Linked DNA regions of Homo sapiens: all the other regions are linked to region 2. Evidence: promoter capture Hi-C in 16 types of primary human blood cells and fetal thymus (Javierre and others, 2016). All regions are on one chromosome and are shown on one strand. The core of a region is centred on a gene start or on the middle of the fragment in contact, and the rest is flanking DNA. Distances in the headings are between cores, read along the strand shown.

Region 1 (2,700 bases), core at 105-2,604, 800 kb after region 2:
ACTAAAAGGCTGAGGCAGGAGAATCACTTGAACCTGGGAGGCGGAGGTTGCCGTGAGCCAAGATCACACCATTGCACTCAAGCCTGGGCAACAAGAGCAAACTCCATCTCAAAAAAAAAAAAAAAGAAAAGAAAAAAGAAAAAATAAAGAAACAAAGACTTGGGTCCCCAGTTCTGAACTTGTCAGAGCAAGAAGATGAAGTTCCAAAGCCTCTTCTTTGGGTCTTATAAATACAAAGAGATACCTGGTTAGGCAGAATTTAAACCTTTATAGGGAATTTATAAGCTGCCATTTAAATGTTGCAGCTAGTTTATTCCATAGATGAATTGTTCTAGAAAACCTCATCTGGTCCTTACGTAAAATGACAAATAGCCCCCTAGTGCCTCGCAAGGGAGGGCTGCAACTGGACATTTTCCTAGCCAACCTATTGGCTGCTCCTGCTGATACTCCTTGGAACGCAGAAGTGGTACCAGAAGGAGGAGATTGAGTCCTCTGGCAGCTTCTCAGCAAATATGCCAATGTTGCCCTCTGCCATTGTTAAGTTCAAACCTATTGGAATTGCTGGGGCACTGTGAGGATCCCGATTGAGAACTATCAGCAGGAAAAGATCCCTCTGGGAGGCTGAGACTCACCCTAAAGGGAGGGGAAATCTGGAGAAGGGACCCAAGCTAATCTCAAAGAGAGTTGGTCTTGAGGCCATGCATGCTGAGGCCGGCAGAACCCCCGTGGCTGCTCCATCACATGACAGGGCGTGGCTGGGAATATACTCATGAACAAGGAAGCTATTGGTTTAGGAATCCCAGTGTGCAGCACCCTGTGCCAAGTGTAACACTGAGGAAATAGAATCCCTGTCCTCCAGTGGCAGCTTGGGTCTGGAGCAGTGGCTCATGCTTGTAATCCCAGCACTTTGGGAGGCCGAGGCAGGTGGATCACCTGAGGTCAGGAGTTCAAGACCAGCCTGGCCAACACGGTGAAACCCCGTCTCTACTAAAAATACAAAAATTAGCCAGGCATGGTCGTGGGCGCCTGTGATCCCAGCTATTCAGGAGTCTGAGGCAGGAGAATCACTTGAATCTGGGAGGAAGAGGTTGCAGTGAGCCAAGATCGCACCACTGCACTCCAGCCTGGACAACAGAGCGAGACTCCATCTCAAAAAATAAATAAATAATAAATTTTAAAAAATAGCAACATGGTCAGTGCAAGGATGTGAGCCAGCAAGCACATCCTCACAGCCAGGGATAAGAGGGGACCACGTTGTGCTGGATCAGTTTTCAACAACCATCCCATGTGGCGGCAGCAGCATTGATGGCAGCTGAAGCCAGCCTGCCTACTGGTGGACTAGACATATTTCCCAGTTTTACCAGCATGAGCATATGGAAACCGGACTGACCACTTAGGACTGAGTGCACACTAAGGGGTTTTTTAAAATAATCTAAAAGCCCCAAGAAATTTCCTGAGATTTTTTAAAATATGGCAAGTGAGGGGCTTAGCCTATTTTTATTCAAAAATACAAAAGGTGACCAAATTCACTCTTAATGAAGCTGGAGAGTCTAGTTGTAGAAACTCGGTTCACTTCAGAATTGTTCCCTGATTAGTCTCTCTTAAATCCAACTTATTTATGCCTCCCAGAAGGGCTGTGCTTAGAGTTCTGAACCCAGGATTTTAAAAGCAAATTTCGTTTCGTCAAAACAGAAACAAGGGCCATCAATTGATGAACGTGGCTTGGAGCTAAAAGTTGAGGCTGCAGATACAAGAAGGCAGAGAGAGAGAGCTCCAACTATTTGTAAAATCCTCAGGCTGGGCTCTTGTTGCCAATGAGATGGGCCTCTTGGACCCTGAGAAGCCCAGTTCTGCTCTCACTGGATGAATAAAGCAGCAGACACTTGGTCTCCTGAACCTCTGCTGCCCAAAAGTCACAGATTCTGGAGGTCATTAATCTTAAAGAGCAGAAAGCAGAAAGTCCCTTCTCTAAGATAAAAATCTCAAAAATATCCTGTTTCCCCAAGTGTCTGCAGGTGTGTTCAAGGTGAGCCTCTTGGACAACTCAGGATGTGTCTGACAACTCGAGCCCTGCCATCTGCCTGTGTCTCCGTCAGTCCGTCAGGACCAATCTGCCTGTGTCTCCATCAGTCCGTCAGGACCACTGGGCTGCAGGGACATCAGCCACAGCTTGTCCTGCAAGACAGAGATGGGGGTGGAGCACAAAGGAAGAGAGAAGAACTTCGGAGTCAAAGAGACCAGAGTTAATTTCCAAGCACTCTCTCTCTCTCTCTCTCTCTCTCTCTCACACACACACACACACACACACACGCACACACACATGCACACACACAGAGTAGATAAAGACACATCACTCCTCTGAGGCCTAAATTTTCCTGTCCCTTAAGTGAGACAATAATAGTGTTATCTACCTTATGAGGATTAAGGATTCCATGAGATGATGCACACAGAATACCTCGCACAGAGCCTGGCCTTAAAAAGCACTCAAAAAACATGAGCTGTTGGAATGTGCACTACACCTAGTTTCCAGATTCTGTCATCCCATTTGCTGTTTGATCCTCAGAACAACTCTATGAGGAAGCTGGAGCAGATATGTTTGCCCCCGGCTTTGGGTGAGGAAACTGATCAATCCTTTGCCCAAGATGACACAGAGTTAGTGATGGGGTCAGGTCTGAAACGTGTGCCTGGCTGCTTTAAGTT
Region 2 (2,700 bases), core at 201-2,700:
CATTTTTTGTTTTGTTTTGTTTTTTTGAGACAGAGTCTCGCTGTGTTGCTCAGGCTGGAGTGCAGTGGCACGATCTCAGCTCACTGCAACCTCCGCCTCCCGGGTTCAAGCGAGGCTCCTGCCTCAGCCTCCTGAGTAGCTGGGATTACAGGTGCGCACCACCATGCCTGGGTAATTTTTGTATTTTTAGTACAGACTACTAAAAATACAAAACTCCTGACCTCAGGTGATCCACCTACTTCAGCCTCCTTAGTCCCGTGTTTTTATCTCTCCCTGTAGCAGAGTCCTGCACCCCTTCCCTCTGCAACCGGTGAGCCTGGTGTCAGGAAGAGAATGGTTTCGTGGAGCTGAGTCCAGTGCCCTCAGGGTGCGGAGGTGTAGGAGCTTGAACTGGCCACACGGTGGTGCCAAACACCAGGTCTTCGCATTTATGTTTCCCAGCCCTTCTGGGCGTCCCTGATGCCCTCAATAAACTCTGCCTGGTTCCCAGGGCACAGGGCTAAGGGCCTCCAAAGGGGAGGGGAGGGGAGGGGAGGGGAGGGGATACCCACCCTTCCCCCAGCCAGACCTTGCAGGGGAGGCAGGAGCGGGGCTGCGGAGGGCGCCTCAACTTTACCCAAACCCACCCCGCCTTTCGTTCTCCGTCTTCCTTCTCTCCCAAGCCAGAAACCTGTCCCCTCTTGCCTTGGGCCACCATCGCAGGGCCTCCTGAAGGCAGATTCTGGGGAGGGGAGGGGGAACAGGGAAAGCAGAAAGGTGGCTGGATGGCAAAGGGCAGCTGTCACCCCGGCTGGCCTGGGGTCCTCGGGGACTTAGAGTCTGGGCCCAGCCCATGCCTCCCCTCCTTTTCCCCTTCAGTGGCCTCCAGGCCTCTCTCCACATCGCCAGGCTGGAGTGCAGTGGCGCTATCTTGGCTCACTGCAACCTCCGCCTCCCGGGTTCAAGCGATTCTCCTGCTTCAGCCTCCCGAGTAGCTGGAACTACAGGCGCCCGCCACCACCCCCGGCTAATTTTTGTATTTTTAGTAGAGATGGGGTTTCACCATATTAGCCAGGATGGTCTCGATCTCTTGACCTTGTGATCTGCCCGCCTCGGCCTCCCAAAGTGCTGGGATTACAGGCGTGAGTCACCGCGCCTGGTCCCCTGTCTTCTTTAAGAAAGCTCAGCGGACCTTTTTCCTTCTTGGGGTGGAACAAAAAGCCAAATCTAGCACAACCCTGGGCAGGGGCCCAGAATCACTGGAAGCAAAGGTGGATGGGATAGGAGGCGAGGCTGCCTGTGGACCACAGGCCCGGCCCGAGTGGCTCTGATGAGAAGCCGGGGCGCCTAGGTCACCGCCCCCACCGTCTGCCCTTCCCCCCACTCCTCCTGGCTGGGTAAATCCCAGAGTCTCAGCCGCCTAAGTGTCTTCCCCGGAGGTGAGATTATCTCCGCCTGTGCTGGACACCTCCCTTTCTCCTGCAGCCATGGATGCCGCTCTGCTCCTGAACGTGGAAGGGGTCAAGAAAACCATTCTGCACGGGGGCACGGGCGAGCTCCCAAACTTCATCACCGGATCCCGAGTGAGTGGGGCCCCTCCGGAGCAGACAGGGTCCCCCACAGCAGCTTTCAACATTCCAGGTGTGCCCCAAGGCACTGTAAACAGCTTTCAGCTGTGCCAAAAAAACAGCCAGGCAGCCCCAGCGCTGGGCCTCCGGGGAGCTCCCAGCGTTTACCCATTCAGGGGGCATTTTTGGTACTTTGCAGATTCAACTTTAGCATGGGCTGAGGGGAAGGGCTTTTGGGAATTTTCTGGGGCCCTAAATGTTGAGTGAGAAGAAAGGGAGTCCGAGGAGTCTTGGTATTTGTCCCCAAATGTCTGTTAGGCTTCCCTGGACTGAAGGGTGCGTCTGTGGCTACAGAATTCGGGCTTTGGCCAGGCGAGGCGGCTCCCGCCTGTAATCCCAGCACTTTGGGAGGCCAAGATGGGCAGATCATGAGGTCAAGAGTTCGAGACCAGCCTGACCAACATGTGAAACCCCATCTCTACTGAAAATACAAAAATTAGCCAGATGTGCTGGGCGCCTGTAATCCCAGTTCAGATACTCAGGAGACTGAGGCAGGAGAATCACTTGAGCCCAGGAGGTGGAGGTTGCAGTGAGCCGAGATCATACCACTGCACTCCAACCTGGGCAACAGAGTGAGACTCTGTCTCAGAAAAAAAAAAAAAAAAAAGAACTCGGGCTTACTTGAGGAAGGATTTCTGGACGCACAGGGCTGTGGGGAGTGGAATGGGGTCTGTAGGGAGGGGTGGGTCCCTCCTCCCTGGGGGGTGCAGGCAGGGTGGAGGTGCTCCAGGGGTCTGAGGCATCTGATGGGGTGAACTGAGTGAGCTGACCCTGGGGACAGCCCTGGGTGTCGGTGGCAAGGGGGTGGCTTCTGCCGGGCCTTGAACAGTGTGTCTAGAGCAGAGTGCACCGTCTCGGTGACTAGGTGATCTTTCATTTCCGCACCATGAAATGTGATGAGGAGCGGACAGTCATTGACGACAGTCGGCAGGTGGGCCAGCCCATGCACATCATCATCGGAAACATGTTCAAGCTCGAGGTCTGGGAGATCCTGCTTACCTCCATGCGGGTGCACGAGGTGGCCGAGTTCTGGTGCGACACCATCGTAAGTAGGCCCTGCGCGCCTGTCTCCTGGGACTAGTCTTTTCTGGGC
Region 3 (2,700 bases), core at 47-2,546, 700 kb after region 2:
TTCACCTGCCTCAGCCTCCTGAGTAGCTGGGACTGCAGGCACCTGCCACCATGCCTGGCTAACTTTTTTGGATTTCTACTAAAGACAGGGTTTCGCCGTGTTAGCCAGGATGGTCTCGATCTCCTGACCTCGTGATCTGCCCACCTCGGCCTCCCAAAGTGCTAGGATTACAGGCGTGAGCCACCGTGCCCGAACTTGCTACTTCTTAAAACAAGACATTTCGTTGTTTGCTACCTGATAAAGGGGCGGCATCTCCCATCTGTGGCTCGATCAGGAGCATCAGGGTCCCATCTCATCCTGGCATCACAATCTCCAGGCCTGCCATGCCCTTGCCCCCTTGCCCATCTTTTGCATCCTTCCTCTCCTACAGATGATTTTTGACTGCAGTTTCCTTGCTTCATCTAAGGAGCTTCTTATAATTACTGTCCATCAACTGCCTCTCTCCTTCCTTCCCAGCATGGTAATGAGAACTTGTTACAATAATTATTTCTGTCACTCTCAGAAGTTAGGGCAGGAGGGGGAGGCTGCTGAATATACATTATCTGCTCTCTTGAACTGGTTGTCTAGTTGTTTTTAAAGTTTCTTATTCTCAAATCACCAGCGCAAATCCAACAGAGACTGTTATTTTGGGGAGGATCATAAAACACAGAACAGATAGTGCTGTGGCATTCACGCATCTGTCTCTGTGAAGCAAGCAGGAATTTTTTGGTGGCCAAATATTTTGACAAAAGCTTTGCAATTTCCTTCTTGTGCTCTCCCTAAGGAATAGTTAAGCCCAGAGATTCTGTGGATAGTGGTTGGCCTAAAAATGCAAATATTTCTTTGAGTAATGTGGGTTTATCCTGACCCCATCCATGTAATACCTGTGCAGCTAGAAGGAAAATTTTTCTTCTCTCATAATTACCGGTAGGCTTAGGAAACACGCCTTTCTGGGGACGATTCCTAGATAATCTTACCTGGGTTAGAAGCTGAGACTTTAGAGGAGGAGGCAGAAGATAAATAATATAGGAGAGGTAAACTTTTTCTCTATCTTTTTAGGTTTGGTGATTGGAGCTCTGTAAATTAAACTGACAAAAGACACATTCGCAAGAGAAGAGAAGAGTTTACTTACGCAAGCCTGAGTGTTCAGTGATGAGTAACTCAAAGTCGTGATTAGAATTTGGGGCTTAAATACCTAACCTAGTAGGGGAAAGGGAGGAGGGAGAAAAGGCTCCTATGGGAAATACAGATGGGCTTCTTTAGGAAATACATTTTTTTCAGGATAACAGGACATTTTTTGAAGAGTGTGGTGATGTCTTTCCATACAAATAAAGGTGGTCTTTCCATCTTCCTCAGGGCCATGAAACTCCCCCGGAGAAGGGATCTATGGTAGCTTCATTTACCAGAAGTTGCTGCTTTTAGTCAGATAAGGGAAGCTCTGAGGAGGCTTTTCTCTGCGTCTGTTGAACCTCAAATGTCTTCAGTTTAAAATAATCTTTATTCCAACTCTGGGCTTCTGAGTGGGTCCACACAGTAAGCTCATATGAGCTTTAGATGGTGGGAAGAGGGCTGGTGACCCTGAAAAAGAGAGGAAAAGAGAGAGGAAGGGGAAGAGGAACAGTGAAATGGATGAAGATTCTGGGGAGCCTGGCGAGACCCCTCAAATCTTGAGCAAGTCCCCCACACCCATGAATCATCTGTTGGGAGCACCCTTAGTGAAACCACTGCAGACTGGGTTTTTTATCCAAGATGGCAGGAGGCTGCACCCTCTAATGCCGAAAAGAACAGACTGAAGAATTAGGCCATCAGGAATTGTCCAGGATCATGAGGAAGACCCTCAGCTTTCGCAGGCTGTAACTTGGGAGGGTTGAACCAAGCTTACCTAAATTTCCAGGAGGCACAGAAGCCCCGTTTGAGAAGGGTAACATGTAAACGTCAAGCAGAGTCCGTCAGGGGTGTGAGCTTTGAGCTGAGTGCCCAGCAGACGGGACTCCAAGTCCCTTCTTTTCTGTGTCCCAGTCTCCCTGGGAACCTACTCCACCGGGAGCAACAGCCCTGATTCCAAATACCTTTAAAATGTCCTGGAAATGTTGTTTTTTTTTTTTTTTTAGCATCTAAATGATATGCCCCAGACTTCTTCTATTCCAACTGTTTCTTTTTTTTTTTTTTTTTTTTTTTTTGAGACCAAGTCTCGCTCTGTCACCCAAGCTGGAGTCCAGTGCCATGATCTCGGCTCACTGCAAGATCTCGGCTCACCACAGCCTCCGCCTCCCGGGTTCAAGCAATTCTCCTGGCTCAGCCTCCTGAGTAGCTGGGATTACAGGCACATGCCACCATGCCAGGCTAATTTTTGTATTTTTAGTAAAGCCAGTGTTTCACTATGTTGGCCAGGCTTGTCTTGAACTTCTGACCTCATGATCTGCCCACCTCAGCCTCCCAAAGTGCTGAGATTACAGGCATGAGCCACCGCGCCCAGCCTGTCACCTCTGTTCTATCTTCCAATTCTGTATTCCAAATTCCAAATTCTGCAGTTCAAACTCAAGTTCTGAATTCTAAGTTGTACCTTCTGGATTCTGTTACATGTCTGTCTCCTGCCCCTAAATCCTTCCTGGGTCCCATCCTTTTTCCCTGTCTTTTTGGATGGAATGTCTGGACATCCTCCTGACCTTGCCGATTTGAGGGGTTTTTTTTAGCAGTTCCAGGATTTTCCCCATCAGGAGG
Region 4 (2,700 bases), core at 141-2,640, 780 kb after region 2:
TTTAATAAATATTAACAATTATTCTCCCTCAAAGTACACAGAATTTCACAGTTTGCAAAGAGCTCCACATCACTGAATTCTCACAACAACCCTGTAAAGTGGACAAAACCATCACCACCTCCGTTTGGCTGATGGAGAAAATGGGGCTGAGAGCTTAGAGATTTTCCCAAGGTCCTGCAGCTAACAGCATGGGTGGGGCTTAAATCAATAGCTTAGGTCTTTTTGTTAAGTGGTCTTTCCAGACTATCATTTAGAAGTTGGGGGGTTGGAATCATTCTGAAGAAGCAAACATGGAAATGCATGTTAAGAAGAAAAGACAGAGAGTGAAACCAGTGTGTTTGACGGAGGAGGAGGCATATGCCCAAAGACAGAGGCAGCCCAGTTGAAATTTCCACATTATGGTTCTGCTGGGCTGAACCCAGAGAAAGCAGAAGTGTTACAGCTTTTGGTTGTGCAGGAACAGACCAATATGCTGAGACAGCACGGTTTGCAGCAGAGAAAGAGTTTAATGATCACAGGGCAGCCAAGCAAGGAGATGGGAAGAGACCCTCAATCCATCTCCCCAAAGAGTTCTGGGCTGGGGCTTTTAAGGGGATCATGGAGGGCAAGGGGCTGGGAATTGGGGTCATTGATTGGTTAGGGTAAGGGCGATGAAATCTTCAGGATGTGGAAACTGCATTCTCTGGGGAGTCAGCTCCTCGTGGGGTCCTTCAGGCCAGCTGACATTGATAGTTTCACTGGTATGCAGGGTCTGAAAGACTGTCTCAATGGGAAAACTTAATATTCTGTAATGTTCAAGTTGTTACCTATGGAGCAGTTAAGGGAAACTGTAATCTAGGGTCAGTGTGATTCTAAGACAATAGGCACCAAACAACTATGAGGAAATGGGTCAGAGAGCAGCTGATCTCATGTTAATGCCAAATGTGCTGCAAGCTGTGTTTATTTTCATTTCTTTCTCTCTCTTCTTCCCTGATGAACTTTACAAAGTTTATAGGGACAGTTTCAGAAACACATGTGGAAACAGTAGACAACAAAAGCAATTAAAGTAATAGCTGCCTTTTATTGAGCCTTTCTCAATGTCAGACACCATTCAGAGTGTTCACATTGGAAAATCCCACTTTGTCCTCAGAACAATCTTATGAGATAAGTACTTCTGTCAGTTATGATGTTTTAGGTTGTAAGTAACAATTTTTTTTTTTTGAGACAGAGTCTCGTTCTGTCACCCAGGCTGGGGTGCAGTGGTGCAATCTCAGCTCGCTGCAACCTCCGCCTCCCAGGTTCAAGCGATTCTCCTGCCTCAGCCTCCCAAGTAGCTGGGACAACAAGCACGTGCGACCAGTCCCAGCTAATTTTTGTATTTTTAGTAGAGACGAGGTTTTGCCATGTTAGCCAGGCTGGTCTCAAACTCCTGACCTCAGGTGATCCACCTGCCTCGGCCACCCAAAGTGCTGGGATTACAGATGTAAGCCACCACACCTGGCCACAACAATATTATTTTTAACTACAAATGGTTTGAACACTAATGGAGCCTCCCAGCCAAGATGATACTGTAAGTTCATACTTCAAGCTCTCCCTCTGATCCCAACACGTAGCACTCATAGATAAAATATTAACAACAAAAGCTAAGAAGACATAGCCACCTTCAAAAGTAAGATAAGTATTTTTCTGGACTAGAAATGGTAGAAAAGAACAAAGAAAAAAGCTGACTGAATTGCAGGTCTGCTGGACTGGGGCCAAGATGCAGGAAGAGGTGGCTGGAGCTCTATCTTGTGGGGTGGCTGGAGCTCTATCCTGTGGGGTACAAGGAACTAAAAATGTAGGGATATTGATCCAGACTTACTGGGCCTGGGATAGGATTTCCCTGGTCAGGGAAGGAGTTTGAAACCAACTGCAATGTATCTGGCCCAGGGTTGTGGTTTATATGTAGCTCAGTGATGACGAAGGTAGGAGTGGGGATGTGCAGCCTTCCAGCCAGGACCTATAGGCAAACCAGCCAAGTTCTTGGATCTGCATCTTCCTCTGTCTCCTTAAAGAACCAGAGCCCCAACCACCAACATGAGACCAGTCCTTGGACAGAAGCCTCATGACTGGGTTGGAGATGACCACAAAAGTTGAATTGGGGGTTGAGGGAGTTGAGTGGATTCCCATAGTAATCATACATAATTATCCTACAAAGCTAAGTTCTGAAGCATATGAGGAAATCTAATGCTAAGAAAAACAGCTGACAAAACCATACTCAGAAGGTTGATGCAGCCCGGGAAAGTAAAATAATAAAGCAATCAGAAAATATTTTTTATTATTTAAGATCCACAATGGATAAAGGAAGAAATAGCATGACTAATAACAATGAGAAATTGTGAAACAAAAGCAAGCAAAAATATAACAAGGTAGGGTGGACATTTAAAAAAAGAAACAGATGTAAAATGCTGAACACAAAATAGGCATTTCATTTACAATACTTTTCAATAGAAGGAATCAATGCTAGAGAATAAAAGAAGGAATCAATGCTAGAGAATAAAGTCAAAGAGAGAATAAGTACATTGGATGATGGTGCTAATTTAATCACTAAGAACACAGCCTAAAGAAATAAAGAAAAATAGGAAAGAGCTATTAAACAAAAAAAAAAAAAACTCTGGCTCAAATATGTGTTGAAATAATAGCTCCAGAAGATAATAGAGGGGGGCTATGAGGAAGGAATTT
Region 5 (2,700 bases), core at 151-2,650, 760 kb after region 2:
AAAGGGGTACAGTCAAAGGGCAAGAACCTTGCCACTTAAGAAATTGTGACCCTAGTCAAGTAATTTAACATCTATGGGCCTCAATTTTCTCATCTCTATAGTGGAAACAATAGTACCTACCTTGCAAGTTGAAATCATGCCCATAAAGCTTGCATTCTACAGCATGTGTGCAATAAGACATAGTTGGATTATGCTTATTAATTGTCTTTATATTGGGGCGATACTGACAAGGACCAACTCTGTGGGACATCAACATTCACTAGATCCTCCTGATTAACTTTCGGCCTCAGAAGAAGGAACGTGGGCAACATTGTGATGGTCCCAAGCCAGCAAATGTCAACATTTCCAAAATACGATTGACCATTTCCCAAACCCAAATAATCAACTAACCCCCATCTTTCATGTTAGTGGGTGTCCTGGCTAAAGTTGATATGACAGCTGAAGTGTGGACTTTTGTCTCATGTAATTTTTTTTTAATTTTATTATTATTATACTTTAAGTTTTAGGGTACACGTGCACAACATGCAGGTTTGTTACATGTGTATACATGTGCCATGTTGGTGTGCTGCACCCATTAACTCGTCATTTAGCATTAGGTATATCTCCTAATGCTATCCCTCCCCCCTTCCCCCACCCCACAACAGGCCCCGGTGTGTGATGTTCCCCTTCCTGTGTCCATGTGTTCTCATTGTTCAATTCCCACCTATGAGTGAGAACATGCGGTGTTTGGTTTTTTGTCCTTGCGACAGTTTGCTGAGAATGATGGTTTCCAGTTTCATCCATGTCCCTACAAAGGACATGAACTCATCATTTTTTATGGCTGCATAGTATTCCATGGTGTATATGTGCCATATTTGCTTAATCCAGTCTATCGTTGTTGGACATTTAGGTTGGTTCCAAGTCTTTGCTATTGTGAATAGTGCCGCTATAAACATACGTGTGCATGTCTCATGTTATTTTTAATCTGAGTTTTCTGAACATAAGGAGAAAAAAAGAGGAAATGAATGCCTGGGTCCCAATGGAAAGTAGTTGCTCTCTTCATGACTGTTCCATTTCTCCTTTCTCCTTTGATTCCCTTGCAAACTTAAAACAGTGTTAGAATTCACACAGGTACACAATTTATAGCTCACATATCAATTTCACATCCACTGCCTCATCCTCCCAAAACAATCCCAGTGAGCAGTAGGACAGACATTTTCATTGTTCCCATTTTACAGATGAGAAAATCAGGGCTCACTAAGTTAAGTTCCCCCAGGATCACACAGCAGAGGAAGGTGAGGTGGGACGTGAGCTTGAGCTTTGATGTCAATGCAAGGAACAAGAAGGTTCTGTCATGGGGCTGCTCTCCTTTCCAATCCACTTCCACTTCTGCAAACCTCAACGCCCCAACACAAGGCACTCTTGAGTAACTATCATAGCAGGGGCCCTTCTTTCCATCCTAGAAAGGGGTGTCCTTTGTCACTTGGGGGAGTGGGTAAATCAGAGGAATTGGCCGGATGGCCTCAGGCTGGAGAGTGGCCTCTAGTCTCTTATCCCCGGGGAAGGAAAAATCAGTGCCCAGCCCCATTATCTGGGGGAGTCCGCTCCACCCCGTCCCCCGCCAGCACTCTTCATCTTCTCAGACCAAACACACACTGAACCTGAGGGAGGTGTAGGCAGCTCCCTGGTGAGGAATTCGAGTAAGCACCAAAAAATTGTACAATAGAAGCCGGCCACATCTAGACCAGTGGCTCTCAAAGTGTGGTCCTCTAACTGGCAGGATCAGTGATACCAGGAGCCTCTTAGAAATGCCAGTTATCAGTTCCAATCCCGGACCTACGGAATTAGAAGCTCTGGGGTGGGGCCCAGCGGTCCATGTTTTTGCAAACCCTCCCAGTGATTCTGATGTGTGCTGATGTGTGAGGACCACTGCTCTGGCATCTCATCCTCACGTCACAGGGTGGAGAAACAGGAACTAGGTCTCACTAGGGACCCCTCTTCCTTCCCACTCTCCAGCTCACAGCCCCACTGCCTCTTCCACCTGCAGCCCCCTGGCCCCCACCTGGGTACCCCCACCCTTCCCTGGAGACTTTTCACCTTTCTAAACAGTACTGGAATCTCGCCTCTTGCCCTGCACTCTGCCCGCTCCATCTTCAGCCTGATATCATGGGACTTCCCCTGCTCTGTCCCAGAATGACTGGGACCTGTGGGCCGGGGTGGACCAGGCTTCAATTCCACGTCAGGCTCTCCCCACCAACCACAGCCATAACCAGTGTTTTCTCCTGATGACTTAAGGACAAACTCACCTTTCAACCAAAGAATCGAGTTTCCCTGGAGACATCATATTTTAGTTTACAAGAGAAGTGTGACTTCTTCCTGGTCATGTGACTGATCCTACACTTTGTGAAATAATGGCCTGCTCTTATCACATCAGAGCAGCATCTGCTGACTCCCTGTTCCTATTTTCACATCAAGGGGCCAGTACTTAACTGAAAGTGTCTCTGAGTCACCCAGGATGACCCTGACTCCCCATTTCTCCCCTGGTAGAGGAGGGGCACAATGCATCCCATCAATGGGTCACTCTCAGGATAAGGAGCAGGCCTGGGAAGAGCCAGCAACAGGGATGCTAGCACCACTCGACCTCACTGCCTCAGGGGGTGGAGGCCAAGCTTCATTCCTGCCCCCATCAGCACCCACTGGGGCTGGACCTTGTTGGACTGC

The links. Contacts are between HindIII fragments. The CHiCAGO score rates a contact against its expected background, and 5 or more counts as called.
Region 1: a fragment that was not itself captured here is called in contact with the fragment with the promoter of AIPL1 in region 2 in 1 of 17 cell types (total CD8 T cells); the score reaches 6.3 in total CD8 T cells.
Region 3: a fragment that was not itself captured here is called in contact with the fragment with the promoter of AIPL1 in region 2 in 2 of 17 cell types (M0 macrophages and M1 macrophages); the score reaches 5.9 in M0 macrophages.
Region 4: a contact is called between a fragment that was not itself captured here and the fragment with the promoter of AIPL1 in region 2, in 1 of 17 cell types (total CD8 T cells). The highest score is 5.0, in total CD8 T cells.
Region 5: a fragment that was not itself captured here is called in contact with the fragment with the promoter of AIPL1 in region 2 in 1 of 17 cell types (M1 macrophages); the score reaches 6.8 in M1 macrophages.

What each region holds. Positions count from the first base shown.
Region 1 is chr17:5,632,772-5,635,471 of GRCh38, reverse strand. No RefSeq gene overlaps it. Among named protein-coding and RNA genes, the nearest start is that of NLRP1, 50 kb to the right of the region's middle. The HindIII fragment of the contact is 2,999 bases long and covers 1-2,700 here.
Region 2 is chr17:6,433,871-6,436,570 of GRCh38, reverse strand. AIPL1 (AIP like 1 HSP90 co-chaperone) reads left to right here and starts at 1,450. Exons shown (of 6, transcript NM_014336.5): 1 at 1,450-1,562; 2 at 2,473-2,652. The coding sequence starts at 1,467. The HindIII fragment of the contact is 8,305 bases long and covers 1-2,700 here.
Region 3 is chr17:5,731,566-5,734,265 of GRCh38, reverse strand. It overlaps the pseudogene LOC100128284. Among named protein-coding and RNA genes, the nearest start is that of NLRP1, 150 kb to the right of the region's middle. RefSeq lists an enhancer at 557-1,756. The HindIII fragment of the contact is 1,125 bases long and covers 734-1,858 here.
Region 4 is chr17:5,649,333-5,652,032 of GRCh38, reverse strand. No RefSeq gene overlaps it. Among named protein-coding and RNA genes, the nearest start is that of NLRP1, 66 kb to the right of the region's middle. The HindIII fragment of the contact is 8,928 bases long and covers 1-2,700 here.
Region 5 is chr17:5,672,715-5,675,414 of GRCh38, reverse strand. No RefSeq gene overlaps it. Among named protein-coding and RNA genes, the nearest start is that of NLRP1, 90 kb to the right of the region's middle. The HindIII fragment of the contact is 2,500 bases long and covers 151-2,650 here.